7 separate regions of the Homo sapiens genome follow, and all the other regions are linked to region 7. Evidence: promoter capture Hi-C in human tissues and cell types (Jung and others, 2019). All regions are on one chromosome and are shown on one strand. Each heading gives the region's core, a stretch centred on a gene start or on the middle of the fragment in contact. The rest is flanking DNA. Distances are from core to core; before and after follow the strand shown.

Region 1 (3,468 bases), core at 476-2,975, 320 kb before region 7:
CCCAGGCTGGAGTGCAGTGGCGCGATCTCGGCTCACTGCAAGCTCCGCCTCCCGAGTTCATGCCATTCTCCTGCCTCAGCCTCCCTAGCAGCTGGGACTAGAGGCACCCGCCACGACACCAGGCTAATTTTTTTTTGTATTTTTAGTGGAGATGGGGTTTCACCATGTTAGCCAGGATGGTCTCGATCCCCTGACCTCGTGATCTGCCCGCCTCAGCCTCCCAAAGTGCTGGGATTACAGGTGTGAGCCACCGTGCCAGGCCCTAGTTTTTGGTTCTTACAAATAATGTCTTAAATTTGGAAGCAAGCTACATGTCCATCAACAGATAAATGGATAAAGAAAATGTGGTACTTATACAAAATGCAGTACTATTCAGCCATCAAAAAGAATGAGAGTTTGTTGTTTGTAACAACATGGATGGAACTGGAGGTCATTCTGCTAAGTGAAACAAACCAGGCACAGAAAGACAAATATCGCATGTTCTCACTTATTTGAGGGACCTAAAAATCAAAACAATTGAACTCATGGAGATAAAGGTAGAAGGATGGTTACCAGAGACTACTGGGAAGAGTAGTGGCGGGGGGAAGGTGGGGATGGTTAATAGGTACAAAAATAGATAGTTTGAATAAGACCTAGTATTTGCTAGCACAACAGGTGACTATAGTCAATAATAATTTAATTGTACATTTAAAAATAACTAAAAGAGTATAATAGGACTGTTTGTAACAAAAAGAATAAATGTTTGAGAGGATAGATACCCCATTTTCCATGATGTGATTATTATGCTTTGCATGCCTGTATCAAAACATCTCACATACCTCAAAAATATATACCTACTATGTACCCACAAAAATCAAAAATTAAAAAATTAAAAAAAAAAAAACAAAGCCATTATTAACATTTGTATACAAGCTTTTGTGTAGACATATGCCTTCATTTCTCTTGGGTAAATACCCTGAAGTGGATGGCTGGGTCCTATAATAGGTGTGGTATATAAAAATTTTTAAAGAAAATGCCAAATTGCCTTCCAAAGCAGCTGTACCATTCTATATTCCCACCAGCAGCATAAGAAAGTAAGTTCTGGTTGCTCCAACATCCCTCCCAATACTTGATATAGTGAGTATTTATTTTTTACTTTATACATATTCTTTGTCTTTTATTTTATTTTATTTTTTGATAGAAGGTCTCACTCTGTTGCTCAGGCTAGAGTGCAGTGGCACAATCACAGCTCACTGCAGCCTCGACCTCCTGGGTTCAAGCAATCCTTCCACCTCAGCCTCCTGGGTAGCTGGGACTACAGGCAGGCACCAGGATGCCTAGCTAATTTTTTATTTGTGTAGAGACGGGGTCTCACTATGTTGCCCAGGCCAGTATCAAACTCCTGAGCTAAAGCGATCTGCCTGCCTTGGCCTCCTAAAGTGCTGGGATTATAGGTGTGAGCCACCACGCCCAGCCTAATTTTGTCTTTTAGTCCCTTGAATGTTCTTTTTTTTTTTTTATTTTTTTTATACAAGGTCTTGCCTCTTTAGCCCAGGCTGGAGTACAGTGGTGCCATCATAGCTCAGTACAGCCTCAATCTGCCGGGCTCAAGTGAATCTCCTGCTTCAGCCTCGTGTGTAGCTGTGATTACAGGTTTGTGCCACATGCTTGGCTAATTTTGTAAATATTTTTTGTAGAGACAGGGTCTCACTACTTTGCCCAGGCTGGTCTTGAACTCCTGGCCTCAAGCTATCCTCCTGTCTCAGCCTTCCAAAGTGTTGGGATTACAGGCATGAGCCACTTTGCCTGGCTGCATATTTTATTTTAATAATAAATTTATTTTCAAAGTATCTTGTATCTAGGAACAGTAATAAAGTTATAAGAGCTTTTGCTTCAAAGGAGGTCCCTGACTTATCTGACTTCACTAAGTGTCAGTTTCTTTAAATGAAACAGGAAATGACAATAGTTCTTAACTCACAGAGCTACTGTTAGGATTGACAAGGCTGGGCGCGGTGGCTCACACCTGTAATCCCAGCACTTTGGGAGGCTGAGAAGGGCAGATCACGAGGTCAGGAGATCAAGACCATCCTGGCAAACACAGTGAAACCCCATCTCTACTAAAAAATACAAAAAATGAGCCAGGCGTGGTGGCAGGCGCCTGTAGTCCCAGCTACTTGGGAGGCTGAGGCAGGAGAATGGTGTGAACCCAGGAGGCGGAGCTTGCCGTGAGCGGAGATAGCGCCACTGCACTCCAGCCCGGGCAACAGAGCGAGACTCTGTCTCCAAAAAAAAAAAAAAAAAAAAAAAGGATTGAGATTACCTATGTGTAGCCTCTAGGTCAGTGTCTGCCACATGGCAAACCACTGAAAATGTTAGCTACTCTTACCAACACCACCATCATCATTATCATCATCATCATCACTATTATCACTTTTTCCACTGCCCCCTCCCTTCTCCAGTACTCCTATTCTATAGGCAGATGTTATATTGCTAAGAGGCATCATAGGATATGCCACTGATGAAAGCACACTCAGGGTGACTGAAGTATAGAAGGGTTCTCTTTCTGAAGGAGTTCTGAATATTTGTAACTAACAAAGAATAAGAACCTGAACTTTTCCATAATTTCCCAAAATGCTGTCATACTGTACTAGGCTCCTAAAATGGGAAATGTCTAAGCACAGCAAGCAAGGGAAAGGTTTTGGAGGTTGCCACCACCAAGGCAGTAGTGTGAGAGAGGGAAATGCAACCCCTCCCTGGCAGAGATGGCTGCTGAAGGAGAGCACGGAATGTGAGGCATCTACAAAGCTCACCTTACTCGTTGGTGAAGAAGATAGAGAATATTCCGAAGACTTCCCAATGTTCTGTTTTCTGGGTTTAGTCTATGACGCCCAAACTGAGGAAAGAGGGAAAAAAAACAAAAGTACTGTTGCTGTTTTTTAAAATCTTCATTTTTACCTGGGGAGGATATTATGTTGGAGTAGTATCTTATAGCATACATTAATAAATTTATCCAATTAGTACCATAGATTTCATTAATCCTGTATTTTTCAACTGAGTGAAATATTTCAATCAAATAAGTGAAAATAAGAAAAATTTTTCCTTTTTTTTTTTTTTTGAGACATCTTCTCACTCTGTCACCCAGGCTGGAGTGCAATGGCACAATTTTGGCTCACTGCAACCTCCACCTCCCAGGTTCAAGTGATTCTCCTGCCTCAGCCTCCCGAGTAGTTGGGATTATAGACATGTACCACCACGCCCGGCTAATTTTTGTATTTTTAGCAGAGATGTGGTTTCACCATGTTGGCCAGGCTGGTCTCGAATTCCTGACCTCAAATGATCCACCCACCTCGGCCTCCCGAAGTTCTGGGATTACAGGCATGAGCCACCATGTCCGGCCTAAGAAAAATTTTTCAATGAAGCAAGCATAATAATTTTCATTTTATAGAGAGGTATAGGGAAAATTCTACCTCAAAAGAAAAAAATATGCCC
Region 2 (3,242 bases), core at 178-2,677, 350 kb after region 7:
CACGGAGGGATGGGGGTAGAAGCCCAAGAAAGCAATAGGATTGTTTTTCTGCCGGAAAATCAGAGATGAAGGACCCATTCCCAGGGTACGGTGGGTAAGAAGGAGAAAAAGACCGTTTAGATACGGAGTAGCACCAGAGACTGGCCTCCACCCGTCCCCAAGCTGAAGCTTGCTGTGCGGGGTTCTGGTTTCTCCTGGGGGAGGGAGAGGGCCTGCCGGCTGTGCCTCCTCTCTGCACCCTCCTTCCCCTCCCAGATTTCTGGTGGTCAAGGGCACAGTTCATCCTCCGGACAGGAGGGGAAGGAGTTTGGGGGTAGGGCCCCACCTCGCAGGCACCTTACCAAGATAAGCAGAATCCACTCACTGGCACTGCTCTAAGGGTACTTTTTTCTGCCCAATTTTCCATTAAAACACTTAAGAGTATAAAGAGCTCAGCCGAAACGGTGAACTCTGGCTCAGTGGCCCAAGGACAATCTCCACTGACCTGTCCCGTCGCCAAAGGGGGTGTCCACCCTCCACCCTTCAGGCTCCACAGAGCCAGAAATAGAGTCTATTAACAATTACCACCCCCCTTCCCTGCACACGGGAAAAGAAGCAGAAAAACAAGGCCTGGATCCCCTTCCTTCCTCGGATTTATTTAACGGTGGGGGGAGTTATGTTTCTTTGGAGAACAAGGAAGATCTAGCGAGTAGCTAGGATATAAAGAACCGGGGGAGGCGGGGAAGGGAGGAAATGCACCCCACCCAGGAGAGGGCCACTCTTGGAACTGGGAGAAAAAGGAGCTCTTGGGCACCCCAGGAGCACAGATGGCGTGAGAAGAGGAGCTGGGGAAAGTGGGGTCTGGAGGGAAGCTGGATGGGGAAAGAAAATGCTGGCCAGGCGGGGAGGGAGCGGCAGCAACGTGGAGAGTCCAGCAAAGCGGGAGTGGGGCGGGGTGGAAGAGGTAGTCCGGCCGGCTGGGTCTCGGGGCGGGCCCCCCGCCCGCACGCCCCCCAACTCACTCACTCGGGTCTCCGCGGCGGCGGGGCGCTCTACCGGCCGCGGGGCGGCTTCTCCCTCCAGGGTGGCCTGAGCGCGGGGCGGAGGTCGCTCTCCTTTCCTTCCCGGGCGTCGCCGGGCCAGGGGACCGAAGTCCTTTTCGTCGTTGAGGGTTGGGGGACGAAGCAGGGGGCTATGGACTATGACTCTCAATAATTTCTTTCAGCTCTTAGGAGGTCGGGCTCGGCAGCGGGGGGCCCGAGGGCGGGCGGGCGGACTAGCGGCGACGACGCGGGGATGGCGGATCGGAGGGTGGTTCGTGTCGCGCAACGGCAGACGGTATGGGCTGTCGCCGGCAGACGGTCCTGCCCTCCTGGCCCCGCGTCGCCCGAGCCACGGCTTGCCTCAGCCAACAACCCGCACCTTCCCGCGCCCCGGCCCGAAGTGAGCAAAGTCAATGAAAAGTTTCACCCTTAGCAACCCTGCGCACGGATCCGGCTTCCCCACCCCTGCGTGATGCGTCCCTCCGCCCTGCAGGGGCGGGGCCAGGGCCCGGCCGGGACTACTTCCCAGCCAGCCCCGCGCCTCAGCTCGCTGGTATCTCGCGGAGCAGCTCCTGTGCCCTTCTGTGCTCGCCGGTCGTGCGTCCGGCTCCCCGTCTTCCCCTCCCTGTCACAGCGCCGCGCCGCACTCCTTTCCTTCATTCCCATACCACTCTGAACTTGTGCGCGTCGTGTGAGGTGTTCTCCCAGGGGCGCTCCGTGAGGGCCGGGGACCACCTGGGGCCGGGTTGCTCACGAGCCGGGCACAGTGCACTCTCCCTTTAGTTGTGTTTGGGGGACGAGTATCGCGGGGGAGGGGAGGGAGTCACCATGCCCGCCGGAAACCCCCCGCTGAGTCGTCCGCCCTGCACCTGCCTCGGAGCCCATGGTTCGGACGTTTGCCCGAGCCGTTTCCCGGGGCCTTCCCTCCAGCTCCGAGCGTCTGGCCGTGTCCGCGGCGATAGCATCGCCCCGTTACGGCCTCTGCGGGAGGGGGAACTGAGGGGACGACGCGGGCTCTGGAAACATTTCGGACCCGTTTCGGGCAGGCATGAGTCTTCCGAGCGCCTTGTGATTCCTCGGGGGGCTCAACGTCGAAAGAAAGGCGAGGGAGACTCTGGGGCCTGGGCCACGCTGTGCGGGAGTAAGAGGAGCCGAGGACGAGGCTGACGGCCGTGAAACTAGCCGAGTGCCACAAAGGACCTTCCCCTCACCGCCTCTGGCGCTCCTTTCCTTGCAGCCTGGAGGGCCGGCTCTGGCTCTGCGCAGGCGCGCGGGCGCAGCCCCTCTCCCAACTCTTGTTTGCTCTTTCTGGCCAGCGACCCCAGTGTGGGGCACGCGGGAGAGCCCCACATTTCTTCTAGTCGCAGTCCCGCCGGCGTGGGGTGGCCCCTGACCGTGCAACGGGCGCAAGGCTCGCACCCACTACGGCCCCTCGGGCGGCGGAGCGAGGCTCCGCGAACCCGGGACTGGGCGCGCCAGGCCCGCGCGCTGAGGCCCCCTCCCCCGGCTCTGGCCACGCGGGCTGCTCTGCCTCTGTGAGTGTGCGGGACACAGAGCCAGGGGGAGGGAGGGCCGTGTTCTGCGGTCACAGGCAGACAGGAGTGCCGGAAGATGCAGTCTGGAGCCCCCGGGGGACTGTGAGTGAGGTCTTCTCCCCGGTCCCTCCTTAGATCTCCCATTTCCCAGTTCTCCCCTCCCGCCCACACCTTTTTTGTCATTCCAGACGGTTCCGGCCCAGCAGCAGCCGCCATCCCCACGTTGGGTGGCGAGATCCGAAAGTTTCCAGCTACGAACAGTTTGCTTTTTTTTTTTCCTTGATCGCTTTTTTTGGCAAGGGCGGAGAGCACCAGTAGCGTGGGGGGTTTAAATGCACTTTCCCTGAATGCAACAGAGAAATGCCGGGCTGGAGGGCAAACTCCACCGGGACAGGGAGGCGGGAGATAGCCTGAGCGCCCCCCCATCCCCCACACTCTGAGCGTCGCAACCCCGGGGGCACCTCCAGGGACTACTTGCCTTGTGCGTCAGCGAGTGACAGCGTCACACACACGCCCCCTCCCGCACATGCCCGCTGCACCCTCCCTTTCCCCCTCCCCTTCCCTTCTCTCTTTTCCCCTAGCTCTTCCCACCAGGCAGAGAGGCTCAGCCGACCCACACGCTCCCAGAGCACTGAAAGCTAAAAATATAGCCGGTGTGTTAGCAACAGCCTTCCCATTGGTCGGG
Region 3 (3,579 bases), core at 739-3,238, 310 kb after region 7:
AGGAGGCAGAGCTTGCAGTGATCCGAGATTGTGCCACTGCACTCCAGCCTGGGCGAGAGCGAGACTGTCTAAATAAATAAATAAATGTTAAATTTTTTTTTAAAATAAATAAAGAATAAATGGGCCGGGTGCAGTGGCTCATACCTGTAATCCCAGCACTTTGGGAGGCTGAGGCGGGCGGATCATGAGGTCAGGAGATCGAGACCATCCTGGCTAACACGGTGAAACCCCATCTCTACTAAAAAATACAAAAAATTAGCTGGGCGTGGTGGCGGGCACCTGTAGTCCCAGCTACTCGGGAGGCTGAGGCAGGAGAATGGCGTGAACCTGGGAGGCAGAGCTTGCAGTGAGCCGAGATTGCACCACTACACTCCAGACTGGGCGACAGAGCGAGACGCCGTCTCAAAAAAAAAAAAAAAAGAATAAATGTGGGCAAGAACTGGAACCCCATGGGGTGCACGGAGCAGGCCTGCCATATCAGGATGAGGCCAAGGAGGGAGCTTTTTCAGGGGCCTCCTCGAGTGGGGGTGGTGTGTGCAGGTACCGTGTGTGTGGGTTGGGGAAAAGGTGGGTGGACAGGAAACCAGGGGCCCCTGGGGCCTCAGCACTGCCTTTTCAAGTGGGGCAAGATCTCTGGGGCCTCCCCTGCCCTGAGGCCCAGAGCCTGAGTTGCCCGAGTGCCTGTGTCTCAGTGTGTGTACAATTGTGTCTATGTGTGTCTGTGACTGTTCCTGGGTATATGTGTGTGCGTCCAACTGCGTCTGGCAGGGTTAGCATATGTGTACACAAATGGGTCTGTGTGTGTCCTCACCAGGGACTCTCTCACCTTGACCGAGGAGTCCGCGGATCCCAGGGCACCAGGAGGTTTCTTTCTTTCTTTTTTTTTTTTGAGATGGAGTCTTGCTCTGTCGCCCAGGCTGGAGTGCAGTGGTGCTATCTCGGCTCACTGCAAGCTCTGCCTTCCGGGTTCATGCCATTCTCCTGCCTCAGCCTCCCGAGTAGCTGGGACTACAGGCACCCACCACCACACCTGGCTAATTTTTTTTTTTTTTTTTTTGTATTTTTGGTAGAGACGGGATTTCACCATGTTAGCCAGGATGGTGTCGATCTCCTGACCTCGTGATCCGCCCGCCTCGGCCTCACAAAGTGCTGGGAGTACAGGCGTGAGCCATTGCACCCGGCCCAGGAGGTTTCATATCCATGCCAGGAGGGGCCCACAGGGCCTGGGGCAGCTGCTCAATTGGCAGCTGGGGCAGTGCCCTGTGAAGGCTCTGGGGTACCCTGCTTCTGTTCCAGCCCCCTACCCCCATCCCCAGTCCCTAGTAACTGGATCTTCTCTCTCCATCTCTCCCCTGGAAGGACCCAGTGCTTCCTGATTTGCATGATATTTACATACATTTGAATTTAGATCCCTGCTTCCCTGAGGCATACAGCATTATTCTCACTCCTGCCAGAGTAGTCAAGGAGGCTGTGGACTTCCTTAGCATAAGGGAGTCCAGGGATTAAGCTGGAGGGGCCCAACACCTCCCCTCTTCCCCATACAGAGTCAGCCTGGCTCTTTTCCTGCTCAAGATATGTGATTATTTAATTAATTAATTTATTTTTTGAGACTGTTTCACTCTGTCACCCAGGCTGGAGTGCAGTGGTGTGATCTTGGCTCACTGCAACCTCTGCCTCCTGGGTTCAAGTGATTCTCCTGCCTTAGCCTCTCAAGTACCTGGGATTACAGGCGCATGCCACCACACACAGCTACTTTTTGTATTTTTAGTGGAGATGGGGTTTCACCATGTCGGCCAGGCTGGTCTCGAACTCCTGACCTCAAGTGATCTGCCCGCCTCAGCCTCCCAAAGTGCTGGGATAACAGGTGTGAGCCACCGTGCCTGGTCATGTAATTATTGAGCACTTACTGTGTCAGTTTTTGTTTTTTTGAGACAGAGTCTTGCTCTGTTGTCCAGGCTGGAGTGCAGTGGCACAATCTCAGCTCTCAGCTCACTGCAATCTCCGCCTCCCGAGTTCAAGTGATTCTCCTCCCTCAGCCTCCTGGATAGCTGGGATTACAGGTGCCCGACATCACCCCTGACCAAGTTTTGTATTTTTAATAGAGACGGGGTTTCATCATGTTGGTCGGGCTGGTCTTGAACTCCTGATCTAAAGCTATCCACCTTCCTCCGCCTCCCAAAGTGCTGGGATTATAGGCGTGAGCCACCACACCCGGCCAGATTTTTTTTTTTAATTGAGATGAGGGTCTCCCTGTGTTGCCCAGGCTGGTCTCAAACTCCTGGGCTCAAGTGATCCTCCCACCTCAGCCTCCCAAAGTGCTGGAATTACAGGCATGAACTATACCGTGCCAGGACAGCAGATGCTTTCTATGCCCATTCATTTCAACCTCACAACAGCCCTTTACGGTATCTTTACATCCATTTTATAGATAGGAAAACAGGTTCAGAACAATTAAGTGACTTGGTTGAGACCACCCAGTAAGTAGGATTTGAACCCAGCTCTGGTGAACTTTCTGTTGACACGGCTGGAGTGTGGGCTTAGTAAGGGGGCCTAGGCACTTTCTTTCTTGGCTCCTGCCCTTGAGTAACAAACCTGGCTCTTGCTCTTTTGACTCAAGGGTCACTATGTCCCCTGGGGAGATAAGAGGAGCGGTAGTGGTGGTGGTGGTAGCAGACTATTTTTGTATTTTTAGTAGAGGTGGGGTTTCACCACGTTCGCCAGGCTGGTCTCGAACTCCTGACCTTGTGATCCACCTGCCTCAGCCTCCCAAAGCGCTGGGATTACAGGCGTGAGCCACCACGCCCAGTCTGCTAAGTGCTTTTCAAGCATTTTCTCAAACTGTCTTTCCCACAACCCTTTGTGAGTTACATCTTATTATAAATCGCATTTCACAGGTGAGAAAACTAGGGCACAGCGGCCAGGTGCGGTGGCTCACACCTGTAATCCCAGCACTTTGGGAGGCCGAGGCGCGTTGATCACGAGGTCAGGAGATCGAGACCATCCTGTCTAACACAGTAAAACCCCATGTCTACTAAAAATACAAAAAAATTAGCCGGGCGTGGTGGCAGGTGTCTGTAGTCCCAGCTACTCGGGAGGCTGAGGCAGGAGAATGGCGTGAACCCAGGAGGCGGAGCTTGCAGTGACGAGATGGTGCCACTGCACTCCAGCCTGGGCGACAGAGCGAGACCCTGTCTCAAAAAAAAAAAAAAAAAAAAAAGAAAAGAAAACTAGGGCACAGAGAGGTGAAGTGAGTAGCCCAAGATCACATAGCTAAGAAATGTTACAGGCAGACTCAAACTGAGATCTATCTGGGTCCAGAGTCTGTGCTTTTATTCTCTGTGTTGCACTGAACTGAACTATCAAGAAATGGAAATTCTAGCCGGGCACAGTGGCTCACGCTTATAATCCTAGCACTTTGGGAGGCTGAGGCATGTGAATTGCCTGAGCTCAGGAGTTCAAGATCATGCTGGACAACATAGTGAAATCTCTTCTCTGCTAAAACACAAAAACTTAGCCAGGTGTGGTGGTGGGTACCTGTAGTCCCAGCTACTCAGGATGCTGCGGCACGAGAATTGCTTG
Region 4 (3,332 bases), core at 376-2,875, 450 kb after region 7:
GTACAAAAATTAGCCAGGTGTGGTGGCAGGTGCCTGTAATCCCAGCTACTCAGGAGGCTGAAGCAGAAGAATAGCTTGAACCTGGGAGGTGGAGGTTGCAGTGAGCCAAGATCGCTTCATTGCACCCCAGCCTGGGCGACAAGAGCGGCACTCTTGTCTCACACACACAAACACAAAACAGAAAATTATGGGACATCTACTCCCGCCAGGCTTTGGCTAAATGAGGGGATACTTCAGGGAAGAAGGCAGATAAGGTCCCTGCTCTCAAGGAGAGGGAAAGGAAAAAGTCTAAGAAGGAAAGAGAGTGATGTGACACAGAATACCTGGAAAGGGAGGACTGTCAAAGAAACGGCAGTGGGAAGACCTCTCAGCTGGTACTAAGGCACACAGGCACAGCACAGAGAAGGCGCACAAATATTGGCTGCTGGAATGAAGGGATGAACCTCCTGACAGTTAATTCTGTACTACTAGAACTCTCCATCTTCACGAAAACAATGCATTGACCCGAGGCGATGGCGCACACCTGTAATCCCAGCACTTTGGGAGGCCGAGGCGGGGGGATCAAGAGATCGAGACCATCCTGGCCAAAATGGTGAAACCCCGTCTCTACGAAAAATACAAAAATTAGCTGGGGGTGGTGGCGCGCGCCTGTAGTTGTCCCAGCTACTCGGGAGGCTGGGGCAGGAGAATCGCTTGAACCCGGGAGGCGGAGGTTGCAGTGAGCCGAGATCGCGCCACTGCACTCCAGCCTGGACGAAAGAGCAAGACTCCGTCTCAAAAACAAAAAACAAAACAAAACAAAACAAACAACAACAACAACAAAAACAATGCATGGCTGGAAGGACAGCAATATTTTATCCCCATTTTAAAAATGGAAACTGAGGCCCAGAAGGGGTCAGTAACTTGCCTGCAATTGCAAAGTAATTTAGAATTGTGGAATCTAACACTTCCAGTTACAACTCCCTTTTTCAAGCCCATTTTCTTTTGATCCCCTTCAATATCTCCTTTCACGGTGAAGAAAAGTTCTGAGACATTAAGCTGCTTGCCCACGGCCAGGGCTTGGCATGACCGAGGCCGGGCCTGCGGCCAGTGGGCGGCGCTCGCTCTCCCACGCCAAGGCCTGCCCGCGAGCCGTGGGCCCAGTACCTTGTTGGCCAACTTCTTGTTCAGCTCCTCGGCAATGGAGTCGTTGAGCTTCCTCTCAAACTGCCAAGGGGGGATCCGGACGGTGTCCACCATTTCCACCAGGACGAACATCCCGGCCTGCGCTGGGGGCTCTGGGAACAGGAGGGTCAGTCACGCACCAGGGCCGGGGGCAGGGAGAATCCCCGAGCCCCTTGGTCCCGTCCCAGTCGCTGAGGCCCCCAGGCTGGCGGTGAGGTTGCACGGGGCGGTCTCGGGGGCCCGGTCCGGGCCATGCTCCGCTACTACAACATGAGGAAACTGAGGCCAGAGGGAGGCACTCTCCGTCCACAGCTCCGGGTGCGCGCCCGCGCCGCGAGACCCCGCCACGCCACGCCACTCCACGCCACGCCACTCCACGCCCCGCACCCGCGCCACGTGCCGCCGCTCGTATCACGCACCACGCACCACGCACCGCGCACAGCCGCTCGCGCTTGCGCGACTGCGGGCGAGATTCCGAATCCATCGCTTCCGGAAAACTCACCAATAAGAAACCTCTGTCCACCCCCACCCCGCCGAGGCGGGGCGGGGCTGCCTGTGTGCTCGCGCACAGCGTGGGGCAGAGAGAGGGCGAGGAGAGGGCGGGGCCTCCTCCTTTCACAGGAGCAGAGCGGTTCCCCCGCCCCCGACAGCGCTTTCTGTTGCTAGGCGACCTCCGTGCAATCCCGCCTGATTATCCCTCGCCTGGCCTGTGCTTTACCCGCATTGCTGTCCTCTGCTCGGCAGCCAGAGTGATCCTTTGGAAACGCAAACATATATTACCACATCTAAGTTAAAAAAAAAACCCACCGCAAACATAACATGCTTAGCACCCTTAAGTGTTCCGGAGACAAGGAGAATTAGCAGGAAAGGGGCACTTGGGACTGTTCTGAGATGATGGAAATGTTCTGTATTTTGTTTTCGGTGGTATAACATTGACGTATATAATTGTCCAAACTAATTGAACTCGGCAAGATTTTTGCATTTATTTGTAGACATTATGTTCCAATTGAAAAGTTATAATAAATTGGAACAAAAAACACAACCCATTGAACTTAGAATACTAGATCCAAGCCGGGCGTGGTGGTGTACACCCGTAGTCCCACCTACTCAGAAGCCTGAGACAGCAGCATCGCTTGAGTCCAGGAGTTTGAGGTTGCAGTTTGAGGTTGCATGCTGCACTCTAGCATGGGTGACAGTGACACCTCATGTCTAAACGAAAAAGAAGAAGAAGGAGAGGCGGAAGAAGAAGAAAGAAGAAGGAGAAGAAGAAGAAGAAAGAAGAAAGAAAAGGGAAAGAAGAAAGAAAAGAAGAAAGAAAGAAGAAAAGTCCAAAACCTTTATGGTAGTTCACACGGCCCTGCAAGATCTGACCATACCCCCCTCCTATAGCCCCATCATGCTCTGTCTCGCTGACATTCCAGTCTCATTCATCTTCACGTGATAGCATGGGCTAAGAGAATTTGGTAGCTTACCCAAGATCACGTGTTGACAAGTGGTAGAGGTGGGCCCAGTCTGAACCTCACTACCCTGCCTCTAAAAATTGGTGGGGTGTAGATGTATACTGTAGTGGGTTTTTTTGTTTGTTTGTTTGTTTGAGACGGAGGATCGCTCTGTCGCCCAGGCTGGAGTGCAGTGGCGCGATCTTGGCTCACTGCAAGCTCCGCCTCTCGGGTTCACGCCATTCTCCTGCCTTAGCCTCCCGAGTAGCTGAGACTACAGGCGCCCACCATCACGCCTGGCTAATTTTTCGTATTTTTTTTTAGTAGAGACGAGGTTTCACCGTGTTAGCCAGGATGGTCTCGATCTCCTGACCTCATGATCTGCCCACCTCAGCCTTCCAAAGTGCTGGGATTACAGGTGTGAGCCACCGCGCCCGGGCTTGTAGTGTGTTTTAACCAAAATAACAATTTAGGTACTTACAAAAGATACTTGGGGTAAATGACAGAGGCACTTGGAAATGTATGGTGCCTTAATTTGCTGATTTCACAAGCATAGTGATCTCTCAGTGACACTGGCTGCAGTGATGCTAAATGTGGCCTTCCCTGCATCTATGATTTTATTTTTAGGTGTGCTTCTATAGGATTTGAGGTACTTGAGGACAGCAGCAAATGCTACTTCAGCTCTTTATTCCCACAATCCCCTAACACATTCCTAGGAAGCATTGAGTA
Region 5 (3,192 bases), core at 439-2,938, 460 kb before region 7:
GACAAAAAAAAAAATTCTAAAAATGTGGATATTACAGTATGCCTTTATTTGGTAATTTTTTTGTTTCTGAGACAGTCTCACTCTGTTGCCCAGGCTGGAGTGCAGTGGCACAAACACAGCTCACTGCAGCCTCGATCTCCCGGGCTCATGCACTACAAGTGCATGTCACCATGCTGAGCTACTTTTTTTACTTCTTGTAGACACACGGTCTTGTCATGTTGCCCAGGCTGGTCTTGAACTCCTGGGCTCAAGTGATCCTCCCACCTTGTCCTCCCAAAGTGCTGGGATTACAGGTGTAAGCCATAATGCCTGGCCCTTATTTGGCAAGTATTAATTGAGCAACTTAAGATGTGAGGTTACTATTATAGTTTTCCACCTCAGGAATGGCAACCAGATACATATAATGAATACCGCACAGAATATTTTCTGAGCTATAACATCTTGATTACTACTACAAAGAGTTCTCACTATAACTGACATTTTCGCTAACTATGCAAAAGACACTGAACACGAAAAGACATTTACTAGAGGCAAAGTTAGGAACTTCATATACATCATGGTAGGAAGCCAGAATTATTTAATTCAAAAACAGATCTGGATTCAAATCCTGGCCAGGCACAGCGGCTCATGCCTGTCATCTCAACAGTTTAGGAGGTCAAAGCGTGAGGGCAAGAGTTCAAGATCAGCCTGGGGAACACTGTGACACCCCGCCTGCACAAAAAAATTTAGCCGGGCATGATGGCACACGCCTATAGTCCTAGTTATGCAGGAGAACTGCTTCAGCAGTTTGAGGTTACAGGAGTTTGAGGACACAGTGAGCTATGACCCTGCCACTACACTCATGTCTGGAAGACAAAGCAAGACTCTGTCTAAAAAAAACAAAAAAGCAAAACAACAACAAAAATCCTGTTATCTAGAAGTTCCTCTAGAAGCTTCTCTTTGCTCATCTGCAAAATGCTGCTACTACCACTTATTTCAGAGTTCATATGAGGATTAATAAGGTAGCACAATGTCTACTATAAAGTAGATGCCCCTATTACTTCCCTCTTTACATTTCTTCATAATCCTTATAACGACCTCATGTTGTAAGGATTATTAACTCTAGTTTACAGATGAAGAAGCTGAATCACAGGAAGGTTAAGGAGTAAGCCTACAGTCACATACCTGGTAACTGTCAGTACCCAGATCTGCTGTGCCCTAAAACTTGACATGGACATGTTACCTCACTGGATATTTTACTCTGTCATATTATGAAGTTCAGAACTTTGTTTGAATTATGCCCATTATGCTTTAAATTTTAATACAAGAACAATTATTTTCAAAAACCAGAATCACCCATAATTTCCACTCATAATTTTAGAGGACAAAGACCTGTAAATAGCCTACCTATCTAGAAATTCAGTAACAGAGGACACACTCCAGATCTCAAAATGAACTAGCCAAATTACTCATTACAAGCTCTCATTTACACAGAGAATGATTTCTAAATGCATATCAATAAGAATGAGTGGGGAGCAAATGAACCAAACATACCACAGAAGTAAAAATGTGGAAGTAAAAAAAAAAAAAGACATTTTCACAACGCTCTTTCTTCCAAGGATTCTACAGATCTTCTATTACTGCTATATGAGCCGGCCTTAAATACTGTGTGAGGAACTGGCCTGGGCTCAGCCCCTGGACTGTTGTGGAACTCAAATCATTTAATTTCACAGTGCCTCCTCCCACTAAACAATGAGAGAACTGGACTTGAGTCATGAACCACAGAACTGAAGGCAACTTGAGCAATTAGTTCCACCCAATGCACCCTGACAGGTCACCCAATTTCTGCTTTAACACCTGCAGTGACACAGAGTGTAATTATCTTCTCTCCTCATACATGTGATATGGATTCAGTATTTTTAAGAATTTTGGCCAGGCACGGTGGCTCACACCTGTAATCCCAACACTTCGGGAGGCCAAGGCAGGAGGATTGCTGTGGCCAGGAATTTGAGACTAGTCTAGGCAATATAGCAAGACTCTCTTCTCTTCTCTACAAAAAAAATTTTTTAAATTAGCCAAGCAGAGGCTGGGCGCGGTGGCTCACATGTGTAATCCCAGCACTTTGGGAGGCCGAGGCGGGCGGATCACTTGAAGTCAGGAGTTTGAGACCAGCCTGTCCAATATGGTGAAACCCCGTCTCTACCAAAAATACAAAAAAATTAGCCGGGCATGGTGGCACATGCCTGTAGTCCCAGCTACCTGGGAGGCTGAGGCAGGAGAATGGCTTGAACCCGGGAGACGGAGGTTGCAGTGAGCCAAGATCGAACCACTGCACTCCAGCCTGGTCAACAGAGCAAGACTCCGTCTCAAAACATAATTAAAAAAAAAAAAATTACCCAAGCAGGCCAGGCACAGTGGCTCACGCTGTAATCCCAATACTTTGGGAGGCCGAGGCGGATGGATCGCCTGAGGTCAGGAGTTCGAGATCAGCCTGGCCAACATAGTGAAACTCCGTCCCTACTAAAAAAAATATATACATATACAAAAAATTAGCTGGGCGTGGTGGTGGGTGCCTATAATCCCAGCTACTCGGGAGGCTAAGGCAGGAGAATTGCTTGAACCCAGGATGCGGAGCTTGCAGTGAGCCGAGATCCCGCCACTGCACTCCAGCCTGGGTGACAGAGCAAGATTCCATCTCAAAAAAAAAAAAAAAAAAAAAAAAATTAGCCAAGCATGGTGGTACATGCTGTTGTCCTAGCTACTCAGGAGGCAGAGGCAGAAGGATCACTTAAGACAAGGAGTTTTGAGGTTGCAGTGAGCTATGATCCCACCATATGCTTCACAAGAGCTTAGAGGTGGAACTAGGGCCCACACTAATACCTAGAATGAGAACCTGTGTGGCTGAGTTTGAGGGACAAGGTTAATCTGGAGGGCATTTAAAAGGTACAGGACTGGCCAAGCACGGTGGCTCATGCTTATCATCCTAGCGCTTTGGGAGGCCAAGGCAGGCGGATCACCTGAGGTCAGGAGTTTGAGACCAGCCTGGCCAACATATAGTGAAACCCTGCCTCTACTAAAAAATACAAAAATTAGCTGGGCATGGTGGCACATACCTGTAATCCCAGCTACTTGGGAAGCTGAGGCAGGAGAATCGCTTGAACCTGGGAGGCGGCAGTTGCAGTGAGCCATGATCACACCACTGTGCTCTACCCT
Region 6 (3,346 bases), core at 633-3,132, 380 kb before region 7:
GGGACTTCCCTAAATCACCTCATTAACATAAACTCGGGTGTGGGCCAAAGGTGCTTGTGATGAATAACAGAAGATTCTCCTTTCAATCCTTCTGGAGCTATTTCAGGAACTAGGAACGAAAAGCAAATATGATAACACCAGATGCTCCTTTTGGTTTCTATCCCTTAGAAAGTAACAAAGGTATTAGGATCTCTGGCCAGGAGCCTTATATTACATTATTTCACACATTTATTCCTTCCATCTGATTTCTGGTCTCAGAAATACCTAGGTTTATGCCCCAGGATGGCCATAGACTTGCTGTGTGACTTTCAACAAGTCACTTAACCTCTCTGAACTTTTTAAAAAGTCTGTAAAAATGGAAATCTGAATACATTCCTTGTAGGGTTGTTGTGAGAACTGACGTGTATATAAAGTAGCACAGAATAGGTGCCCCCCAAAAAACCTTCATTCTCCTCTTCCCTCTCTTTCTTGGTAGCATCCTAGTCTAAGCCCTCCTCATTACATACCTGGATTACTACAGTAAATCCCCAAAGGGTCTCTGGTTTTCTAGTCTCTTTCACCAATCCAGTCCATCTCAAACACCAAGACTGGAGAAATCTTCTTAAAATATTGTATTCCTCTTTTTTTTTTTTTTTTTTTTTTTGAGATGGAATCTCACTGTATCACGCAGGCTGGAGTGCGGTGTCATGATCTTGGCTCACTGTAACCTCCACCTCCCATGTTTAAGTGACTCCCCTGCCTCAGCCTCCCAAGTAGCTGGGATTACAGGAGCATGCCACCATGCCCAGCTAATTTTTGTATTTTTAGTAGAGACAGATTTCACCATGTTGGCCAGGCTGGTCTCAAACTCCTAACATCAGGTGATCCTGCCTCAGCCTCCCAAAGTGCTGGGATTACAGGCCTGAGCAACTGTGCCTGGACTTAAAATATTGTATTCCTTTTGTCACTTTTCTGACCTTTTGTAATTGCCCAATGGGTGCTTCCCGTCTGCTGCACAGACCAAATTAATTTTTTTGAACTGTGGTATTGCAGTAAAGCAAGAGTTTAATTAACACAAGGCTGGTTATACAGGAGAACTGGGGTTATCACTCAAATCAGTCTCCCTGAAGGATCAGTGGTTCAGATTTTTCAAGGATAGTTTGGCTGGCAGGGACTAGGGAATGGGTGCTGCTGACTGGTTAGGGATGCAATTGTAGGGGCGTGGAAAATGGTCCTTGTGCACTGAGTCCACCTCTTGGTAGGGCCACAGTCATGGTCATGGGTCACGAGTCTGAAAAACATCTCAAAAGGCCAATCTTAGGTTCTACAAGAGTGATGTTATCTATAGGAGCAACTGGGGAAGTCACAAATCTTATGGCCTCTGGCCTCATGACTCCTGAGCAGTAAGGGATTACAGAAACTACACCTGCATTTTGACAGAATTCAGCTTCCCCTCATAATCCTAATCTTTTGGCTTTTCACTAGTCTTACAAAGGTGGTTTCAGCTCTCAAATTAAAAGGGACTGTTATCATCCTTGCTTCAAAGTTAAACTATAAACTGAATTCCTCTCATGGTTAGCTTGGCCTATGCCCAGAAATGAGCAAAGAGAGCCAACCTGTGAGGCTGGAGGCTAGATGGAGTCACCCATGTTAGATTTCTCTCATTGGAATTATCTTTGCATAGGCAGTTTCACTTTACCCATTGCCATCAGGTTACATTGTCAAAGACCCATTCTAGCCCTAAAATCTGCAATAACATGGACTTTTCTCATTTTTTGAGACAGAGTCTTGCTCTGTCACCCAGGCTGGAGTGCAGTGGCGCGATCTTGGCTCACTGCAAGCTCTGCATCCCGGGTTCACACCATTCTCCTGCCTCAGCCTCCTAAGTAGCTGGGACTACAGGCACCCATCACCACGCCCGGCTAATTTTTTGTATTTTTAGTAGAGACGGGGTTTCACCGTGTTAGTCAGGATGGTCTCGAGCTCCTGACCTTGTTATCTGCCTGCCTCGGCCTCCCAAAGTGCTGGGATTACAGGCGTGAGCCACCACGCCCGGCCAATAATATGGACTCTCATATCCAGGATAACTCCCTTGTGTCTTTCTTGAAGCCCATGGGAATGAATGCAATGGCCCAACCAAGAGAAGAAGAAGAAAGAAGATGAAAGAAGATGAAAGAAGAAGAAGAAGAATAGGAAGAAGAGGAAGAGGAAGAGGAGGAAGAAGGGTGAGGAGGAGGAGAAAAGAAAGAAGAGGAAGAAAGCTAAGGATAGAATCTTAGAAACCTTCACTGTTCAGGGCTGGCTGGGGAAGAGGAATCAGCAGAGGAGCTTGTGTTGGATCATCCAGAGAGGCAGGAGGGAAGCCAGGGGAGCGGTGGCATCCTGGAAGCTGATGGAAAACATGGTTTCCACGAGCAAGTGACCCAGCGGGTCAAATGCTGCAAAAAGGTCAGGATGAGGCCTGGCAAGGATCTGTGGTGGATGAATAGTGTCCTCCCAAAAGATACGTCCAAGTCTTGACCCTGACACCTGTGACCGTGACCTTATTTGGAAATTGAGTCTTTGTAGATATAATTAAGTTAAAGGTCTTGCGTTGAGGTCATATAGGTCCATCCTAAATCCTATAGCTGATGTCCTTGGATTTTTTTTTTTTTTTTTTTTTTTGAGATGGAGTCTTGCTCTGTCGCCCAGGCTGGAGTACAGTGGCACAATCTTGGCTCACTGTAACTGCCGCCTCCAGGATTCCAGAGATTCTCCCGCCTCAGCTTTTTTTTTTTTTTTAATATTTATTTATTTGTAGTTTGGTGGGGGTTTTTGTTTGTTTGTTTGGGTTTTTTGTTTGTTTGTTTGTTTAATAGCTCTGCTGGAACCAATATACATCTTTTCTTAAAGCAACATTCCTTTAGTTACTGCCATAGCGCTCCTCCTCTTGATAGTCAAGCTTCCTGGAAAAGTTGCTCCTACTGGTTTAGAACCCACCAAAGTCAACCAATGACCTCTTTATTTCTAAATCCAATGTGCCCTGTATTAGTTTCCTAGGCTGCCATAACAAAATACCACAAACTTGGCAGGTTAGAAACTGTGAAATAATGTATTATCTCATAGTTCTGGAGGCCAGAAATCCAAAATCAAGTTCTCAGGTAAGTTGGTCCCTTCTGGAGGCTCTGAGGCCCACACAGGCACCACTCCAGTCTCTGCCTCAGTCTTCACCTGGCTCGCTTTCTATGTCTCTGTGTCTCAAATCTCCTTCTCCTTTAATAAAAATTGAAAGACAGCAGGGCACGGTGGCTCATGCTTGTAATCCCAGCACTCTGGGAAGCCGAGGCCAATGGATTGCTTGAGCCCAGGAGTTTGAGACCAGCCTGGC
Region 7 (3,406 bases), core at 372-2,871:
GTATGGACACACGTGGAGGGCAAGAAATGAATTTGGGTCTGGTGCCGAAACATCTTTCCACTGCTGTGATTTTGTTTTCTGGTCAGAGTAATAATGCTCGTTGTAAAATAAATAAATAAATAATACATAAAAAGGAAAAGGAAAATTCAGAGAAAATGAAAACAACTCGTAATCAACGTGCTTTTTGGATGTGAACTGCTCCCTTTGGGAGGGCAATGGAGAAGTGAGGACGCACTGGGTATCTGGCCCGGAACAGCCGGCAGTGGGTACACCCTGCCTGGTGAATTCGACCGGGGTTTTGGGGGACCCGCCACCCAAGGGCCGAAGAGCAGGGCCGCCCTACGGGCGCTCCCATTTGGCCACCTGAGTGGCGACTTGGCGCCTTCCTCGGAGCAGCTCCGGGGTTCCGTCGTCCCGGTTCCCACTGGTCCCTTACGCAGAGACCAAAGGCAGGAACCTTCCCTCGTAACTATCCACCGACTGAAAATAGATTCTGAGTCCGCCCCCGCCCCTCCCCCCTTAAAATCCTCCCCACTCTTAAAATCCTCCCCTTTAAAGGGAGCCACAGGGTGACGCCGGGGGAGTTTGCGGAAGCGCTAACCGCGTTGGGGCCTAGGGCGGATCCCGTGATTGGGACAGGCCCCGCCCCCGGCTCCACTTCCCCCATTGTGTGAGCGGCTCGGGCCTAGGCCCCGCCCCCCTCCGGAGGCCCGGCCACTCCCCTTTTCCACCCCCCCTTGGCTCATTTCCGGCCGCCGCCGCTACCGCTAGCCTGTAAGGAGGATTCGGCAGAGGGAAGAAACAACAGCCGCCATCTTGTTTGTGTGCTAGGCTGGGGGGGAGAGAGGGCGAGAGAGAGCGGGCGAGAGTGGGCAAGCAGGACGCCGGGCTGAGTGCTAACTGCGGGAGCCAGAGAGTGCGGAGGGGAGTCGGGTCGGAGAGAGGCGGCAGGGGCCGAGACAGTGGCAGGGGGCCCGGGGCGCACGGGCTGAGGCGACCCCCAGCCCCCTCCCGTCCGCACACACCCCCACCGCGGTCCAGCAGCCGGGCCGGCGTCGACGCCTAGGGGGGACCATTACATAACCCCGCGCCCCGCGGCGTCTTCTCCCGCCGCCGCGGGCGGCCCCGAACGGAGCCCCGGGGGGCGGGCGCTCCCAGCACCTGGCCGCCGGCGGTGGGGGCCGTAGCAGCGGCCGTATTTATTTATTTTCCGCGGGAAAGGAAGGCGAAGGAGGGGAGCGCGGCGCGAGGAGGGGCCGCCTGCGCCGCCGCCGGAGCGGGGCCTCCTCGGTGGGCTCCGCGTCGGCGCGGGCGTGCGGGCGGCGCTGCTCGGCCCGGCCCCCTCGGCCCTCTGGTCCGGCCAGCTCCGCTCCCGGCGTCCTTGCCGCGCCTCCGCCGGCCGCCGCGCGATGTGAGGCGGCGGCGCCAGCCTGGCTCTCGGCTCGGGCGAGTTCTCTGCGGCCATTAGGGGCCGGTGCGGCGGCGGCGGCGCGGAGCGCGGCGGCAGGAGGAGGGTTCGGAGGGTGGGGGCGCAGGCCCGGGAGGGGGCACCGGGAGGAGGTGAGTGTCTCTTGTCGCCTCCTCCTCTCCCCCCTTTTCGCCCCCGCCTCCTTGTGGCGATGAGAAGGAGGAGGACAGCGCCGAGGAGGAAGAGGTTGATGGCGGCGGCGGAGCTCCGAGAGACCTCGGCTGGGCAGGGGCCGGCCGTGGCGGGCCGGGGACTGCGCCTCTAGAGCCGCGAGTTCTCGGGAATTCGCCGCAGCGGACGCGCTCGGCGAATTTGTGCTCTTGTGCCCTCCTCCGGGCTTGGGCCCAGGCCCGGCCCCTCGCACTTGCCCTTACCTTTTCTATCGAGTCCGCATCCCTCTCCAGCCACTGCGACCCGGCGAAGAGAAAAAGGAACTTCCCCCACCCCCTCGGGTGCCGTCGGAGCCCCCCAGCCCACCCCTGGGTGCGGCGCGGGGACCCCGGGCCGAAGAAGAGATTTCCTGAGGATTCTGGTTTTCCTCGCTTGTATCTCCGAAAGAATTAAAAATGGCCGAGAATGTGGTGGAACCGGGGCCGCCTTCAGCCAAGCGGCCTAAACTCTCATCTCCGGCCCTCTCGGCGTCCGCCAGCGATGGCACAGGTTAGTTTCGGCAGCCCCGGCCTTCCACGTTCCCTTTAATCTTTTCTACTCGGTGCGCCTTTATTCTTCCATTTTTTTTTTCTTCCTCTCTCTCTAGTTCCCTGCCCCTTAATTAATTTTAAAGGTATTTGAATGAGCTGGTCGAAGACGTCCAGTAGCCCAACCATTTTCTTTGCCTCCTAATACATTGATTGCAACACTATGTCATATCGGTGTGTGTTCTGGAATTAGAGCTCGTAAGTGGGTGCTATATAGAAATGGCCTGTATTGTTGCTCTCATGCAATTTAATTTGGGAAATGCCAATGCATTTGTGTGTAAGAGCTCCTATGCAATTTAAGTTTCATTTTTTTTGTTCTTGGCAAATGAATTTCGAATCCTTTCTCTTTACTGTACTTACTGTGTTTCCTCTACTTTCCACTCTTCGAAATTTTCTCTCCTTTGCAGAATATTTTCTGTTGAGGAATAGGGTGTAAAAAAATCTTGATTTTGTGTGTGCGAGGTCCAAGATTTCAGGTTAGAGGTGAAGTTTAACAATTCTTTTATCTTACCTACCATTCTTAGCTTTTTTTTCCTTTTTCTTCTTATTTGCTTTAAGAATCAATATGGAGCGCAGTTCATTTCACATCTCCCAGTTCTTTGGTGTGAGACCAAAATGTCTGAAACTCTGGGTTTTTAGGTTGGGAGAACAGGGGCATGTTCTTTGCAGTTTGCAGTCACTTTCTCATTTTAGGGGAAATAAGATAAACAATTTTGTGGAGTTACGTACCTGGAAATCAAGGTTAGAAGTTGAAAGAGTTCCAATCATGAACTACAAACGTGAACTGATTGTACAAAAGTTTAAAATGTGCATTAGGTTTGGTGTTTGTGTGTGTCTTTGTCTTTTTACACTTTTAAACATACTTGGAGATCAAGATTTTCGTTTAAAAGCTTTACGACCAGTTCATTCAGTTGTGGACTAGCTCCTTTGTCAGGAGAAGTTCAGGGAGACTTCTTCCATCATCCCTTCATTCTTTTCTTACAGTTAGTTTAATGGTGTTATCCTGATGGGTAAGGACCTTTTCTTTGCTGGGATAATGAAGATGAAGAATGGCTGGCCATCTGACAGTCCACAAGATGTTCCCCTTTACTACGGAGCATCTCTTTAACTCCCTGAGAGCAGGCTCAGCGTCATCCCTCCATCTGCCAGTGAGAGTGCATAATGGAGTTAAATGTACCCTTTGAGTTTGTAGAGAACTTCGAGAGCATGTTTCTAAATAGGCTTCATTTCAGAGGGTGAA

Evidence for each region. The method cuts DNA at HindIII sites, captures the fragments that hold promoters and counts their contacts. A contact is called where the count stands out against the background at its distance.
Region 1: a fragment that was not itself captured here is called in contact with the fragment with the promoter of EP300 in region 7 in 2 of the 25 tissues and cell types used here (IMR-90 fibroblasts and aorta).
Region 2: a contact is called between the fragment with the promoter of TOB2 here and the fragment with the promoter of EP300 in region 7, in 2 of the 25 tissues and cell types used here (dorsolateral prefrontal cortex and hippocampus).
Region 3: a fragment that was not itself captured here is called in contact with the fragment with the promoter of EP300 in region 7 in 2 of the 25 tissues and cell types used here (dorsolateral prefrontal cortex and hippocampus).
Region 4: the fragment with the promoter of POLR3H here is called in contact with the fragment with the promoter of EP300 in region 7 in 3 of the 25 tissues and cell types used here (adrenal gland, dorsolateral prefrontal cortex and hippocampus).
Region 5: a fragment that was not itself captured here is called in contact with the fragment with the promoter of EP300 in region 7 in 1 of the 25 tissues and cell types used here (stomach).
Region 6: a contact is called between a fragment that was not itself captured here and the fragment with the promoter of EP300 in region 7, in 1 of the 25 tissues and cell types used here (IMR-90 fibroblasts).

What each region holds. Positions count from the first base shown.
Region 1 is chr22:40,771,148-40,774,615 of GRCh38, forward strand. It overlaps SLC25A17 (solute carrier family 25 member 17), which reads right to left. Exons shown (of 9, transcript NM_006358.4): 8 at 2,790-2,872. Among named protein-coding and RNA genes, the nearest start is that of MIR4766, 41 kb to the right of the region's middle. The HindIII fragment of the contact is 5,383 bases long and covers 1-3,468 here.
Region 2 is chr22:41,445,374-41,448,615 of GRCh38, forward strand. TOB2 (transducer of ERBB2, 2) reads right to left here and starts at 1,428. Exons shown (of 2, transcript NM_016272.4): 1 at 1,006-1,428. It overlaps LOC105373043 (a long non-coding RNA gene), which reads left to right and starts at 1,572. Exons shown (of 2, transcript XR_938274.2): 1 at 1,572-2,659; 2 at 2,746-3,242. RefSeq lists enhancers at 1,198-1,893, 1,640-1,889, 1,894-2,589 and a silencer at 2,460-2,559. The HindIII fragment of the contact is 14,496 bases long and covers 1-3,242 here.
Region 3 is chr22:41,405,194-41,408,772 of GRCh38, forward strand. No RefSeq gene overlaps it. Among named protein-coding and RNA genes, the nearest start is that of TEF, 25 kb to the left of the region's middle. RefSeq lists a silencer at 3,159-3,208. The HindIII fragment of the contact is 5,819 bases long and covers 1-3,579 here.
Region 4 is chr22:41,542,845-41,546,176 of GRCh38, forward strand. It overlaps POLR3H (RNA polymerase III subunit H), which reads right to left and starts at 1,626. Exons shown (of 6, transcript NM_001018050.4): 1 at 1,147-1,626. The coding sequence starts at 1,257. RefSeq lists enhancers at 987-1,824, 1,147-1,246, 1,257-1,346 and silencers at 1,397-1,526, 1,717-1,816. The HindIII fragment of the contact is 26,348 bases long and covers 1-3,332 here.
Region 5 is chr22:40,627,099-40,630,290 of GRCh38, forward strand. All of the region lies in intron 1 of MRTFA (myocardin related transcription factor A), which reads right to left. Among named protein-coding and RNA genes, the nearest start is that of MRTFA, 8.0 kb to the right of the region's middle. The HindIII fragment of the contact is 9,289 bases long and covers 1-3,192 here.
Region 6 is chr22:40,706,156-40,709,501 of GRCh38, forward strand. No RefSeq gene overlaps it. Among named protein-coding and RNA genes, the nearest start is that of MCHR1, 28 kb to the left of the region's middle. The HindIII fragment of the contact is 5,121 bases long and covers 1-3,346 here.
Region 7 is chr22:41,090,971-41,094,376 of GRCh38, forward strand. EP300 (EP300 lysine acetyltransferase) reads left to right here and starts at 1,622. Exons shown (of 31, transcript NM_001429.4): 1 at 1,622-2,128. The coding sequence starts at 2,035. MIR1281 (microRNA 1281) reads left to right here and starts at 1,543; the gene lies at 1,543-1,596. RefSeq lists silencers at 523-812, 913-1,682, 1,863-1,962 and an enhancer at 2,073-2,312. The HindIII fragment of the contact is 16,440 bases long and covers 1-3,406 here.